Regions from separate parts of the Homo sapiens genome. Here all the other regions are linked to region 2. The links are contacts of gene promoters, found by promoter capture Hi-C in human tissues and cell types (Jung and others, 2019). All regions are on one chromosome and are shown on one strand. Each heading gives the region's core, a stretch centred on a gene start or on the middle of the fragment in contact. The rest is flanking DNA. Distances are from core to core; before and after follow the strand shown. Region 1 overlaps SLC5A4-AS1 (SLC5A4 antisense RNA 1). Region 2 holds the start of SLC5A1 (solute carrier family 5 member 1). Region 3 overlaps RFPL2 (ret finger protein like 2).

The links. The method cuts DNA at HindIII sites, captures the fragments that hold promoters and counts their contacts. A contact is called where the count stands out against the background at its distance.
Region 1: a fragment that was not itself captured here is called in contact with the fragment with the promoter of SLC5A1 in region 2 in 2 of the 25 tissues and cell types used here (heart left ventricle and lymphoblastoid cells).
Region 3: a fragment that was not itself captured here is called in contact with the fragment with the promoter of SLC5A1 in region 2 in 3 of the 25 tissues and cell types used here (adrenal gland, lymphoblastoid cells and mesenchymal stem cells).

The regions. Positions count from the first base shown.
Region 1 is chr22:32,212,247-32,216,675 of GRCh38, reverse strand. The region is part of intron 2 of SLC5A4-AS1 (SLC5A4 antisense RNA 1); the gene reads right to left. Among named protein-coding and RNA genes, the nearest start is that of SLC5A4-AS1, 9.3 kb to the right of the region's middle. RefSeq lists an enhancer at 4,073-4,429. The HindIII fragment of the contact is 5,924 bases long and covers 1-4,429 here.
Region 2 is chr22:32,040,474-32,044,589 of GRCh38, reverse strand. SLC5A1 (solute carrier family 5 member 1) reads right to left here and starts at 1,329. Exons shown (of 15, transcript NM_000343.4): 1 at 1,174-1,329. The coding sequence starts at 1,308. The HindIII fragment of the contact is 11,764 bases long and covers 1-3,831 here.
Region 3 is chr22:32,190,064-32,194,606 of GRCh38, reverse strand. RFPL2 (ret finger protein like 2) reads left to right here. Exons shown (of 5, transcript NM_001394555.1): 3 at 117-262; 4 at 1,415-1,705; 5 at 3,255-4,169. The coding sequence ends at 3,835. Among named protein-coding and RNA genes, the nearest start is that of RFPL2, 13 kb to the left of the region's middle. The HindIII fragment of the contact is 8,298 bases long and covers 1-4,543 here.

The sequences.
Region 1 (4,429 bases), core at 1,512-4,011, 170 kb before region 2:
AAAGCCATTTGTCACTGAATACTAAAACATCAAACCATTGATTTTTAACTGCTTCATTAAAATATAATTCACATACTATAAAATGTATCTATTTAAAGCATATAATTCAGTGTATTTTAATATATTCACAGAGTTTTGCAACAATTATCACAATCCAATTTTAGATATTAACATTTATTGGCATCCTTGAATATACGTATTTCTCTGTCTTTATTTCTGTTTTAACACAGTGAATGACAATTATCTCTATGTAGAATTGTAGAGAGGTTTAAGACACACCTTTTTGTAAGCAAGTCAACAAACTAAAATATGTTTTAATAAATTACGTAAGAAACATGGAAGAGGGCCGGGCGCGGTGGCTCACACCTGTAATCCCAGCACTTTGGGAGGATGAGGCGGGCAGATGACGAGGTCAGGAGTTCGAGAGCAGCCCGGCCAACATAGTGAAATTCTGTCTCTACTAAAAATACAAAAAATTAGCTGGGCGTGGTGGCACACGCCTGTAGTCGCAGCTACTCAGGAGGCTGAGGCAGGAGAATCGTTTGAACCTGGGAGGCGGAGGTTGCAGTGAGCCGAGACCGCAGCACTGCACTCCAGCCTGGGTGACAGAGTGAGACTCCATCTCAAAAAAGAAACATGGAAGAGAGAGCACTTTCAGCACATGCTGGAGACTGTCTCTTCCTGGGTAAAAATAATAAAAATTAAAGAAACATATCCATCATATTGTTATAAAAATTCAAACAATGCCCTTGGGTCTGTAGAATTAAATATAATACTCTTCACTGACAACCTAATCCTCTCATCTACTGTCACTAACTTCCCAAAGAAGTGTTGACAAGTTAAAGCATATGTTCTAGTAAGTAATTTTTCTATTAATTTATATACATATGTAAACATACACATACATTTACAAAATGCAATCTTCCTTTATGTGTTATTTTGTGACTGGCTTTTACACATAAAATATATCTTGGAGATCTTTGCCTATCTGTACAAATAGATCTCCCTCATTCTTCTTATAGCTGCACTATTGTTCCATAGGATAGTTCACTATAATTTGGCCACTTTTCTACTAAGGAGCATTCATGTTGGTTTCAATTATTTGCTATTATCTACAATACTCAAATAGACATACCTGTATATTCATCTTTTGACATATTTGCTAGTTTTATTTTCTTTATTTTCCTAGAAATGGAATACTGGAGCAAAGTGTACAAGCATTAATATTTTGATTAAAAATTATGTTTCAAAAAGGATTTGCCAATTTATATTCTCATCAGTATATGAGAGTTTTTATTTACTCACATGCTTGACTACAGGGTATATTACCAATCATAGTGAATTTTTGTCAATTTGATGATTGAAAAATAGTTTCATTTTTTAAATTGGTATTTCTCCACTTACTAGTGAGATTGTATATATTTGCATGTATTTATTAGCTATTCATATTTTTTCTGTGAATTACTTGATATCCTTTACCAATTCTCTAATTCATTTACAGATATTCTTTACATATTCTATATATTTATTATTTGCATATGAATAGCAAGTATTTTGTCTTAAAGTCTATGTCTTGCCTTGTAACTTTATGTTGTCTTTTATTGTACAGAAGCTTTAATTTATATTTAGTCAAATTGTTTCTTTTTCTCTTATGACTTCTGGGTTTTGTGACTTACTTTCAATTGTCTTTTCAGGGTTTTGTTGTCTGTTTTGTTTGAAATGACATACTGAAATCCTACATTATATTGCAATTTACTTTTTTCTCTTTATACTGCATTGTGGACATTACTAAGCCTAACTAATGTAGATCAAATGTATTTATTTTAATTTCTGCCTAATTTATAATATTGAATGTATTTTATTTCCTTAGCAATTCCCGCTTTTTCTTTTCTTTCTTTCTTTCTTTTTTTTTTTTAAGACAAGTTCTTGCTCTGTCACCCAAGCTGAAATGCAGTGGCACTATCATGGTTTGCTGCAGCCTGCAATTCCTGGGCCCAGTGATTCAGTAAGGCCAGAAATTAAAAGAACAACTTCTGGGCCAAAGAAATCCTCCTGCCTCTGCCTTCCAAGTATCTGGGACTACAGGCACATGCCACCACACCCTATTTTTTTCAGAGATGGGATCTTGCCATGTTGCCCAGGCTGGTCTTGAACTCCTGACTTCAAGTTACTCACCTCAGCCTCCCAAAGCGCTGGGATTACAGGCATGAGCCACTGCATCCAGCCAACAATTCCCCTTCAGATGGACATTCAAGTTAAGTACTCTTTGCCACCACAAATAGTGTTGTAGCAATCATCTTTTACACTGGATGGTTTCATTTCTACAGGACAGAATCTTTGTAGTGGTATAACTTAGCCATAGCTATGTTTACTTACACTTTTAATAGATACTGATTAGTTACTTTCCAAAAAGTTGAAGCAATTCACATTCCCATCAACAGGGAACAAGCAGGAGGACCGTTTCCCCTGCAGGCTCAGTAGCAACAAAAGTTGTTGCTTTTTCAAAAAATATATATATCTTGCTAATTCCCTTGGTGAAAAATCTCACAGGAGTGCTAACTAATCAGTTATTTTAACTTCAATTAGTTGCCTATTTATAACCTTTTCCTATTTTTCTATCAAGTGGTTTAAGGTGAGGAACATTCTTAAAACAGGAAACCTAAAAATAATAAACACATTTTGTATATCAAAAGGCAGTGCAAATGAAATTGAAAATGTGGAGTCCAAAAGATATTACAAAACAGGAAAAAAAGAGCTCCCATAAATAAATGAGAAAGAGACAAGTAAGCCTAACTGTTGAACTGCATTTGGATAGGAAGAAACAGACTTGGGCTTCCCTGCTATATATATAGATATATATGTATACATATATAGATATATATATCCATATATATGTATAGATATATATGTATACATATATAGATATATATCCATATATATGTATAGATATATATGTATACATATATAGATATATACATATATGTATAGATATATATGTATACATATATAGATATATACATATATGTATAGATATATATGTATACATATATGTATACATATATAGATATATATGTATACATATATGTATATATATACACACATACATATATAGTGTGTATATATATAGTGTGTGTATATATAGTGTGTATATATAGTGTGTGTATATATATATATAGTGTGTGTGTGTGTGTGTGTGTGTGTGTATATATATAATATAACCTCCTTGGAATAGACAATGTCTTCATACAGAGGACACAAAAATTACCAATCATAGGAGAAAAAAGCAATATATTGAACTACATCAAAATTGAAAACTTCTAGCCAACAAAAGTCACCTTAAAGGAAATGACCAAACAACCCACAAAATAACTGAAAATACTTAGAGTACGCACACGTCTGACAAAGGAGTTGTATCCGGAATAAAAAGACCAACAGGCCAACTTTAAAACTCAAAAAAAAAAATGACACTTGGAGAAGAGCTTCAAGGTGACTGACTAGAGGTGCCCAACATTCGTCTCCTCCACAAAGAAGGAGCAAAACAGATAATCACATGTCAAATAGAGCATCTAACAGAGAATGCTGGAATTCAGCGGGGAAGTGACAGAACCATCCGAGATATGGAAGGAGAGAAAAGCAAGACCAGATGAGCTCCCCAGTGCAGGGGAAAAGGTAAGTGAGAGATTCCCAGGGGTCCACATTCCCACCACAGATTCCTGCAACCCTGGCCATGGGAGAGCCCCTCAGCTCTTGTGGGCCCTGAGACAGCATAGGATGCTGCCTGTACTTGTCCACGCAATGGCATTGTTCCAGAGGGAGTCGTGCTGGGTACCACACACACACTTTAGATCCAAGAAGCTCCAGCACGTGCCATTTTGAGAGCCCAGACCCCATGAGGATTGCCTCTTGCCCTGGGGCCCAACAGCCCTGCATCTCCACATCCCTAGAGCCCCCCTGACATCTCCCCTTATCCACTTAGAGGGCTACAGCAGCATGATGCCGGCTAGACCAGCGGTTTGACCGCGTCTCCAGCACTCTAGCCCACACAAGAGTCCTACACCCCAGGGAATGGGCAATGCAGTGCACCAAGGAGGCCAGCTCCATGACAAAGGAAACCCAAGTGCATGAGCCTGAGAGCCATCTGCCTGTGGCTGCTGCCACTGACAGCAACCCCACATCCCACCCCCAGCAGCAGGGCTGACACAAAATTGCACGTACCTTCATTGTGTCTGGGAACCAGCCCACCCAGATACTGTCCCAGGGCTTGAGGGAAGACTTGCCCCACTCGCCGCCGCTGCACTTCCAGGCAAGCACCTGGGAGCCTGAGGATTGTTCTGTCCCACCTGCTGCCATGGGCACAGGCAAGAACCATCAGGAGGCCCGCCAGCAGACCCAGCGCCACATTGTGACACAGGCTCATACAAAAACCCCT
Region 2 (4,116 bases), core at 80-2,579:
TGACCCCATGTGACACTTGGGAGGCATTCTGCCACATCTAGTTTCTACAATTCCTTTGGAAAAAAAAAAAAAAACACTTCCTTTTGTCCCTGAAAAAGCTCTGTGTCCACAGAAGTGTTCATGCCTACCTTCCTCTCCTCTAAGTCAAAAGAGTTCAACACAATCACCAGCTGCTACAGCAGCCTCCCTGGGCTTATCACCTCCACCTCCATAACAATCACGAGAATGGCTGGAACATCTGCAAACATTTTATATATTTTTTGTAATTTTTTTTATTTTTGTAGAGACAGAGTCTCACTATGTTGCCCAGGCTGATCTCGAACTCCTGGACTCAAGCAATCCTCCCACCTTGGCCTCTCAAAGTGCTAGGATTACAGGAGTGAACCACCACAGTCGGTCCTGCACACTTTTAAAACATCTCCTCCTCTAGTTGTTGGGCCTGCCACAGTCTGTCATAAGTGAAATGCCCATGTTCCAGGTGGCTGAGAACAAGTTTCTCTGGTTTGCTGTGTCCCCAGAGTCCCAAAAGGAGACACACACATTTCCCTCTCCCCAGTGCCAGGTCACCCCCAGGTCTTCCTCCTCCTCCTTTTCCACCCATCTTTCTCATCTCTAACTTGATCCAGCCCCTGGGATCCTCATGCACAAGGCCTCTGGGTTAGCCTCTCCCAGGAGTGGGGCATGGGTCAGCATCCCTCTGTCTGCCACCTCAGCATCCCCATCTCTGGGGCTGGCAGAGGCTGTGGCTTTCCCACTCCACACCATTTCTTTCCCATCTGAAACTGGATGACTAAAAGGTAGGACAGTAGTCACCTGCTAGAGGCTCATCTCCCAAGCCCCAGAGCCCTCCCTGTAGCTCTAAGCAGCCGCTTTCCTGCCCCTTACACTTTCCAGCGGTCTCTTCAAACCCCCACCTTCCTTCTCTGCTCACAGGCTCAGGTATCCTCCTTGGTCCTTCCTGGCAGGCTGCCCTGGGCACCCTTCTCACTTCTGCTCATCCTTGCTTGCCCTCCTCCCTTCATGCTGTGCCTCTGAGTGCTTCTAAAGTGCTTCCAAGTCATTTCCTCTCCCCTCCACCGACACTTAAGCCTACTGCCCCTTGCAGCTCAGCGAGGCCATTGCTCCTCCTCTGTGCGCACCCTCCCCACCCGCATCCCAGAACCCGCTGCATACCCACAGTCCGACGGCCATCACTACCACGAAGTAGATAACGATGATGGAGATATCGGCTGCATTGCGAATGAGCTCGTGGGTCTCAACAGGCCGGGTGACCGCGGTGGTCTTGGGGCTCCAGGTGCTACTGTCCATGGTGGCAGCGTTGCGTCCTTCCCTCTCGCCAGGGCCGCTAGCTCCTTATACGGCCTCCTGGTTAATGATCAGCACCAGGGGAGGGGACCTGGGACTTTGAGGGAGCAGGGCAGTAGCGCGGGGCCCCTGCGATGCCTTGCGGCTGCACCGTCAGGAAGCAGCTCCGGGCGTGGAGCCCAGGAAGGAGCACCCGGCTGAGCTGTTGGCTGGGGCGGCGGCCCGGCAGGTAAGAGCTGTCCTGCGAATGGGGAGGGGCCAGCCAGGGGGTGGTGCCCGCCTGGCACAAAGGCCCACTGTACTCCCACAGCAGGCACCAGCAGCGCCACCACACCTGCCCTTGCCAGAGCTGGAGTGGCTCCATTGAGGGAACAGGCCACCTGGGGCTAGGAGCCTAGAGGCTTCAGATCACCTGCCACCCATCCTTGGACTAGTCCCATGCCTTCTAAGGACTTGGCTTGTCCGCTTGTAAAATGGGTGCAGCACTCTTCTGAAGAATCAGTCAAGTCTTGTTCTCCCTGGAGAACATTCTTGAGAGGACAGAGAGTTGCTGGGTGTCACTGGAAAAAAACCAGCACAATCCTAATCTCTTGGCCACAAGGACAGCCACCCACCCACCCACATTCCTGACTCCCCCTCCACAGCCTGCAGCCCCCAGGTCCACTGTTACCCCCACTGTAAAGAGGAAGAAACTGAGACTGGGGGAAGGGATCTCACCGGGAGCTATTTCCTTGCCCTGTCCCTCTCCCAGTATTGATGCAGGGCCCTCCAGAGGCAGCAGAAGGGAAGATACTAGAGAACCCTTTCCAAGGAGTTCATCAAACCCTGACCTTCCTGGGGACTCAGCTCACCCATCTGGAAACACATGTCTAAACAGCAAGCCAGGGCTCAGAACAGAGATGACCAAGAGAGGAGGCATGACTTGCCCAAGGTCATACAGGAAACCAGCAGCAGAGCTGGCCCTGCAGCCCATGCCAGGGTTCAGAGGGAGGGCTGTGGGGTATTCTCAGGGGCTGGCTCTAGAGGCCACAGAGCAGCCAAAAGTGACTGTTCCCAAAGAGGGGGGCCTTGCTCTGATGGGGAGGTGCAGGGAGGCAGAGGACCACAGAAACCCTGCCAGGACTCTGGTCTGCCTCAGGCCCTCCCTGCCCACTGCTAGACAACCACCCACTGCCTAAATGTGAGCATCCTGTTCCTTTGCACTCAATGCTTCAGAGGTCTGCCTCCCCTCCTTCCGTATCAGCAACTGTTCTTCCCACTGAAGCTGCAGACAAAGAATCATTATTTGGACAGCATCCCCACAGGTCTTCCCCATTTCCCCCACACATCCCCCAGGACTGCAAACTATATAAGGCTATGTCCTGGGGCCAGTATAATGCCTGCCCAAAGGAAGCAGGAATTCTTACGAGGAACCTGAAAGCAGGGGCTGTCTGCTGTGGATGCCTCCCAAGACTTAGAGCTCAGCTGTCAGCTGCAGCTTGGAGCAACTCGCCTTTTGCCTGTGTTCATTCATTCCTGCATTCAGCCAAGTTTTTTCACCTGAATGTATCCCAGGAAGAGTCCCTGCCCTTAGGAAGCTTCTGTTCTAGTCTGGAAGTGAACCCACCCACAGGAAAAGTCCAGCCCTGAACCCAGGTGCAGGTGCAGGCAGCCAGGCCATGCCAAGTTCCAAAAGTACAAGGCATAGAAAGTGAAGCGAGCAGGAGAGAGAACTGGAAGTACTAAAGGACTTCAAAGGAGGGACAGAGCCATTCTTTGATCTTTTAGGAGAGCCAAACATAAATGGGAAAAGAAAGGAAAGGATGGTGCCCAGGTAGAGGTCAGAAAATGCATCCATTCATTCATTCATTTATTCTTACAACAAAAGAGCAGCTTCTATGTGCCAGATCATATGTACCGACCCTGGAATACAGCTATGAAAAGACACAGAGCTCTTGCCCTCACAGAGCTTCCTGACCAATGACAGAGATAGATCAGCATCAAAGATGAGACAACTACCTGTGAAATTACCATTGTGACACATGCTTTGAAGGAGAAATACTAATACCCCAAATGCCTACCAAGGAATTCAACCTGGGGATAAGGTGAGGTTAGAGTAAGTTCTGTGAAAGCTCTGGTTTGAGCAGGGACCTGAAAGAAAAGGAGGAATAGGCCAAGTAAGCTGGGAGTGAGGGACATTCCAGGAGATGACAAGCATGAGGAGTAAGGAAGGGGTTACAATATTTAGGGAGGGACTAGCTGGGGCTACAAATAAACATATATAAAAAGCATGTCACCTGTAAGAAACTCCCTACCACAGTCATTCCCCAGGCTGCCTGAGGCCCTTTTGCCATCTCTCTTCCTCATTGGTCTCTTCTAAAGGGACACTTCAAACCCAATTTCCCCTGAATGGATGCTTCTAGGAGAACACAGTGTGATGCCCACCTGCTCCCATGCAGCTGGCCTGAGCTGCTGGGTCACTGCTCACTGGTAGGATCCTGTTGGACTCTCTCTTGCCGTCATTGGTGCCAATCAAAACCAGGATCTGGTCACTAAAGGGGCCCTTGTTAGCAGAACACCCGAGAAAGAAAAAAGCCAGCCAGACACTCAGGCCGCAGGAAAGATGAGGCTGATAAGGAAAGACAGAGCTGAGAGCAGGAAGCAGCCCCCTCCCTATCCAAGTATACATAGGTTTACAATCAGTGGTCAGACAAGGATTCCACATTTAAAAATAGATGCCCACAGAGCCACAGCCATACCTGACTGTCAGAAAAAGAACAAATATTCAAATGACTCTGAGGTCACTAGTGTCTACAGATGGCAGGGAGAACC
Region 3 (4,543 bases), core at 694-3,193, 150 kb before region 2:
CTTACCTTCATATGAAAGAAAAATACACTGTCAGGATGAAGGATTTACTGAAGTTATAATTAACTGGAGATATATCACCAGTAAAAACCTAATTCCCTGTTATAATTAAATCAAAGCCTCATCAGGTTAGAGGGTGTGGAAGGGCGTGACCCAGTGGGAGGTGGGAATCTCACCAATAAAAGGCCCTCGTGTGCCCCTTCCCCACAAGACCTGAGCGCCCAGTGGAAGCAGCTGGAGGACAGAGGAGCTTCCAGCAGAAGAGGTGAGCCCATGCCTGTGTGTGTGTTTTTCCTCTTAGATGCCTAGAAATGGGGGTTATGACTTGGGGGGATGAATGAGAGAAATTCGTAATTAATGAATTCAACAAAGGCCGTCTGAGTGCTGCCTCAGAGTTGGAAACCAGTCACCCTGGATCCCCAGTCTAGGAGTGTAAGAGTGGTGGCAGTCAATTTGGTATTCACTTCCAAGGCTGGAGAAGGATGTAATTTTTTTTATTTTTTTATTTTTTTATTTTTTGGTGAGACGGGTCTTAACTCTGTTGTCCAGGTTGGAGTGACTTGGCGTGATCTCTGCTCTCTGCTAATTTTTGTATTATTTGTAGAGACAGGGTCTTCCTGTGTTGCCCAGACTGGTCTCAAACTCCTCGGTTCAAGGGATCTTCCTGCCTCGGCCTCGCAAAATGCTGGGATTACAGATGTGAGCTACTGCATCCAGCCCCTCTTTTTTTTTTTTTTTTTTTTTTTTGAGATGGTGTCTCACTCTGTTGCCCAGGCCAGAGTGCAATGGCAGGATCTCGGCTCACTGCAACCTCTGCCTCCCAGGTTCAAGTGATTCTCCTGCCTCAGCCTCCCAAGTATCTGGGATTACAGGCATGTGCCACCACGCCTGGCTAATTCTTTTGTATTTTCAGTAGAGATGGGGTTTCCCCATGTTGGTCAGGCTGGTCTCGAACTTTTGACGACCTCAGATGATCCACCCACCTTGGCCTCCCAAAGTGCTGGACAGGCATGAGCCATCGTGCCCGGCCTCCCAGCCCCTAATTCTTATGTTCATCAATCAGTCTCTTGCTGGGGTTCCCCTAGGAGGAGGTGAAATGACCCCAGCTCGCTGTTCCTCACATGGGTGCTGCCATGTCACTGGCTCAGGCTCAGCTGCTGGGTCACCAGGAGAATGGACGCTTCCTCCACCTCAGCTCAGAGCACAGTGATGATTCGTGACTTTCCCAATAGAACTTCAAATCTCTGAAGACGGGGGGTGGGGGGATGTGCTTGAGTGTTTGTACTCATGGTCTTATTCTCGGAGTGACAAAGCTGGAACACAATACCTCTATGCATGAAAAGGTTGTCACTTGTCACAACTAACAGGCTTTCACCTCATGGAAATTTTTTTACCTTGTGTACTTTTCCCCTGGCAGTGGACATGGCTGCACTCTTCCAAGAAGCAAGCAGCTGTCCCGTCTGCTCAGACTATCTGGAAAAACCAATGTCCCTGGAGTGTGGATGCGCCGTCTGCCTCAAGTGCATTAATTCACTGCAGAAGGAGCCCCATGGGGAGGATCTACTTTGCTGTTGCTCTTCCATGGTCTCTCGGAAGAACAAAATCAGGCGCAATCGGCAGCTAGAGAGGCTGGCTTCCCACATCAAGGAACTGGAGCCCAAGCTGAAGAAGATTCTGCAGATGAACCCAAGGATGCGGAAGTTCCAAGGTAAGGCATCTGTATACCCTGCCCCCTTCCCAAGACCAGACCAGGAAAAATCATTTGTGCAGTTGGCCCCTCATTCCACATGGGGATTAGCTGCTGTCTGGCACCTAAAATTGAGATGCTTCATCATCAGATTCTCAGCCCTGACAACATACAGAATCACCTGGTGATGTCAAAAACAAAAACAAACAAAAACCCGATGTCTATGTCATGGGTTAGACAAGGGATTCTCTAAACTTAGTGTGCTCAGATTACCTGGGGATCTTGTTAAAATGCAGATGCTGAACTGGGAAGTCTCAGGATTGATCCCACTGGCTTGGGGACTTTGCTGAGTAGCAAAAACATAGAGCAACTGAATTTGAATTTCTCTCTAGCAAAGGTTCCCAGGACTCTAACATTAAAATGGGCCTGGTAATTCTAATGCACGGTGAATATTGGCACCCATTGTACAAACAACCTTACCCCAGGGTTGGGAAGAGTTGGGAATGGAGCACCTATGGTGTTTGTTTCTGTGAGTGTGGGGAGAGTTTCAGACAGTGTTCTCCTCATCCATGCGCCATGGGCTTCAACAGTGGTCCTGGCTACAGAAAATACTATACATCTCTATAACTCTGGAGAAAAGGGACATTTACATGAAGAGATTATGGTCAGCCTGGGCACAGAATTACACCTATAAATGGTGGTGGGCCCCTATGATGTCCCCGACACTGGTAGCTTCTGCCCTGACACCCACGATCTCTACTCTTCCACCTACCCAAAACTGACTGTCTCTCTGCTGAAATATGGAGGACAGATTCACCCTGCCCAAGTCATGTTTGGAACCCTCTTCCTCCTTCCTTATCCATGTCCATTCATTTCATTCCCTAATTCACCATCAAACAGCAATCAATCTCTTCAAGTCTTACTGTAATCTATAAAATCTATATTGGTGATCATATCAGTTTTTTGACTTGAAGGATCATATGTTCTGTAGATTTTTTTTTTTCAGAATGTTCTGGACAATTAATTTTCTCTAGGCCAGATCACATTGCCTCCTTCCTCTGTCATCACACCGTCAGCTGCAGAGATATTCCATCTTCTGTCAGAACTGTACACGATTAATTTGTTTACAAACATGGAAAACAAAGGCCTGGACTCATGCTCTAGATACTATTTAAATTGAAGCAAAAAAATGTGGAAACAAACATCATTTAATATCGACCACTTGCATTGTCTTATCATTTATTTGTTCATGCATCAAGGTGGTAGAAAGGGGGGCATGGTGTCTGCCTTCAAAGACCCTCCACTCTAAACGAAGAAAAGGCCAATGAAGCAAACACATGACATAAAGTAAAATAAGAATTGCTACTGTGAATAAGGGTCAGGTATTGCCACAAAGCATACCTATGAGAATTTGAACTAGTCAGGGAAGTTACCTCATGAAGTTTGGATTTTGGGGGAAGAAGAGAATTAAAGAAACTAAAGTCAAGAGATATTTGGGCCTTTGAAGTAGAAGAGAGGCATAGGGTTGGTTTCTGTCCATTTGCTGAGCAACTTTTTTTCCTTTTCACAGTGGATATGACCTTGGATGCCAACACAGCCAACAACTTCCTCCTCATTTCTGACGACCTCAGGAGCGTCCGAAGTGGGCGCATCAGACAGAATCGGCAAGACCTTGCCGAGAGATTTGACGTGTCCGTTTGCATCCTGGGCTCCCCTCGCTTTACCTGTGGCCGCCACTGCTGGGAGGTGGACGTGGGAACAAGCACAGAATGGGACCTGGGAGTCTGCAGAGAATCTGTTCACCGCAAAGGGAGGATCCAGCTGACCACAGAGCTTGGATTCTGGACTGTGAGTTTGAGGGATGGAGGCCGCCTCTCTGCCACCACGGTGCCGCTGACTTTCCTCTTCGTAGACCGCAAGTTACAGCGAGTGGGGATTTTTCTGGATATGGGCATGCAGAACGTTTCCTTTTTTGATGCTGAAAGTGGTTCCCATGTCTATACATTCAGGAGCGTATCTGCTGAGGAGCCATTGCGCCCATTTTTGGCTCCTTCAGTTCCACCTAATGGTGATCAAGGTGTCTTGAGCATCTGTCCTTTGATGAACTCAGGCACTACTGATGCTCCAGTCCGTCCTGGGGAGGCCAAATAAGCCCTCACTCCAAAAAAACAAAAAACAGGGTAAGAAAATTACTTGGGTGGGTAGACTTAGGAACGCTCTACTTCGTAAAAGCATTATACAAAGTCACGGGAGAAAAATATGGGACATTTCTTGATTGTACTTAATCTAATTTGATTAGATTATAGAGTCCTAAGTATTAATTATTGCCACCATCAAACTCATTGAGTCCTATGGTTCACATCTTGTTTCCTATAGAAATGTCCTGTATTCTGGGATCAATTTCCAAATGCTTTACTTTTTTATTTCTGCAAGTTCAAATTAATGTATTATAGAAGTTATGAGTTAAATAAAGATTGGAATATCACCTAATGGATTATGTGACTTTCTTTCCTCAGCCTCCTGAGTAGCTGGGATTACAGGCACCCACCACCAACCTCAGCTAATTTTTTGTATTTTTAGTAGAGACAGGGTTTCACCATGTTGGCCAGGCTGGTCTTGAACTCTTTACCTCATGATTCACCCGCGTCGGCCTCCCAAAGTGCTGGGATTACAGGCATGAGCCACTGCACCCAGCTGGATTATGTGATTTTCTAAATGATAGGAGTGCAATATATTTTATTCATAGTAAAAGTGTGAGTGTGTGTGTATACGTGTGTGCATGTGTGGGTGTGTGTGTATTTGAACAGAGAGCTGGATAAATGCCTATGTCCTATCCAGAACTGAAAAGACAAGTTGTTG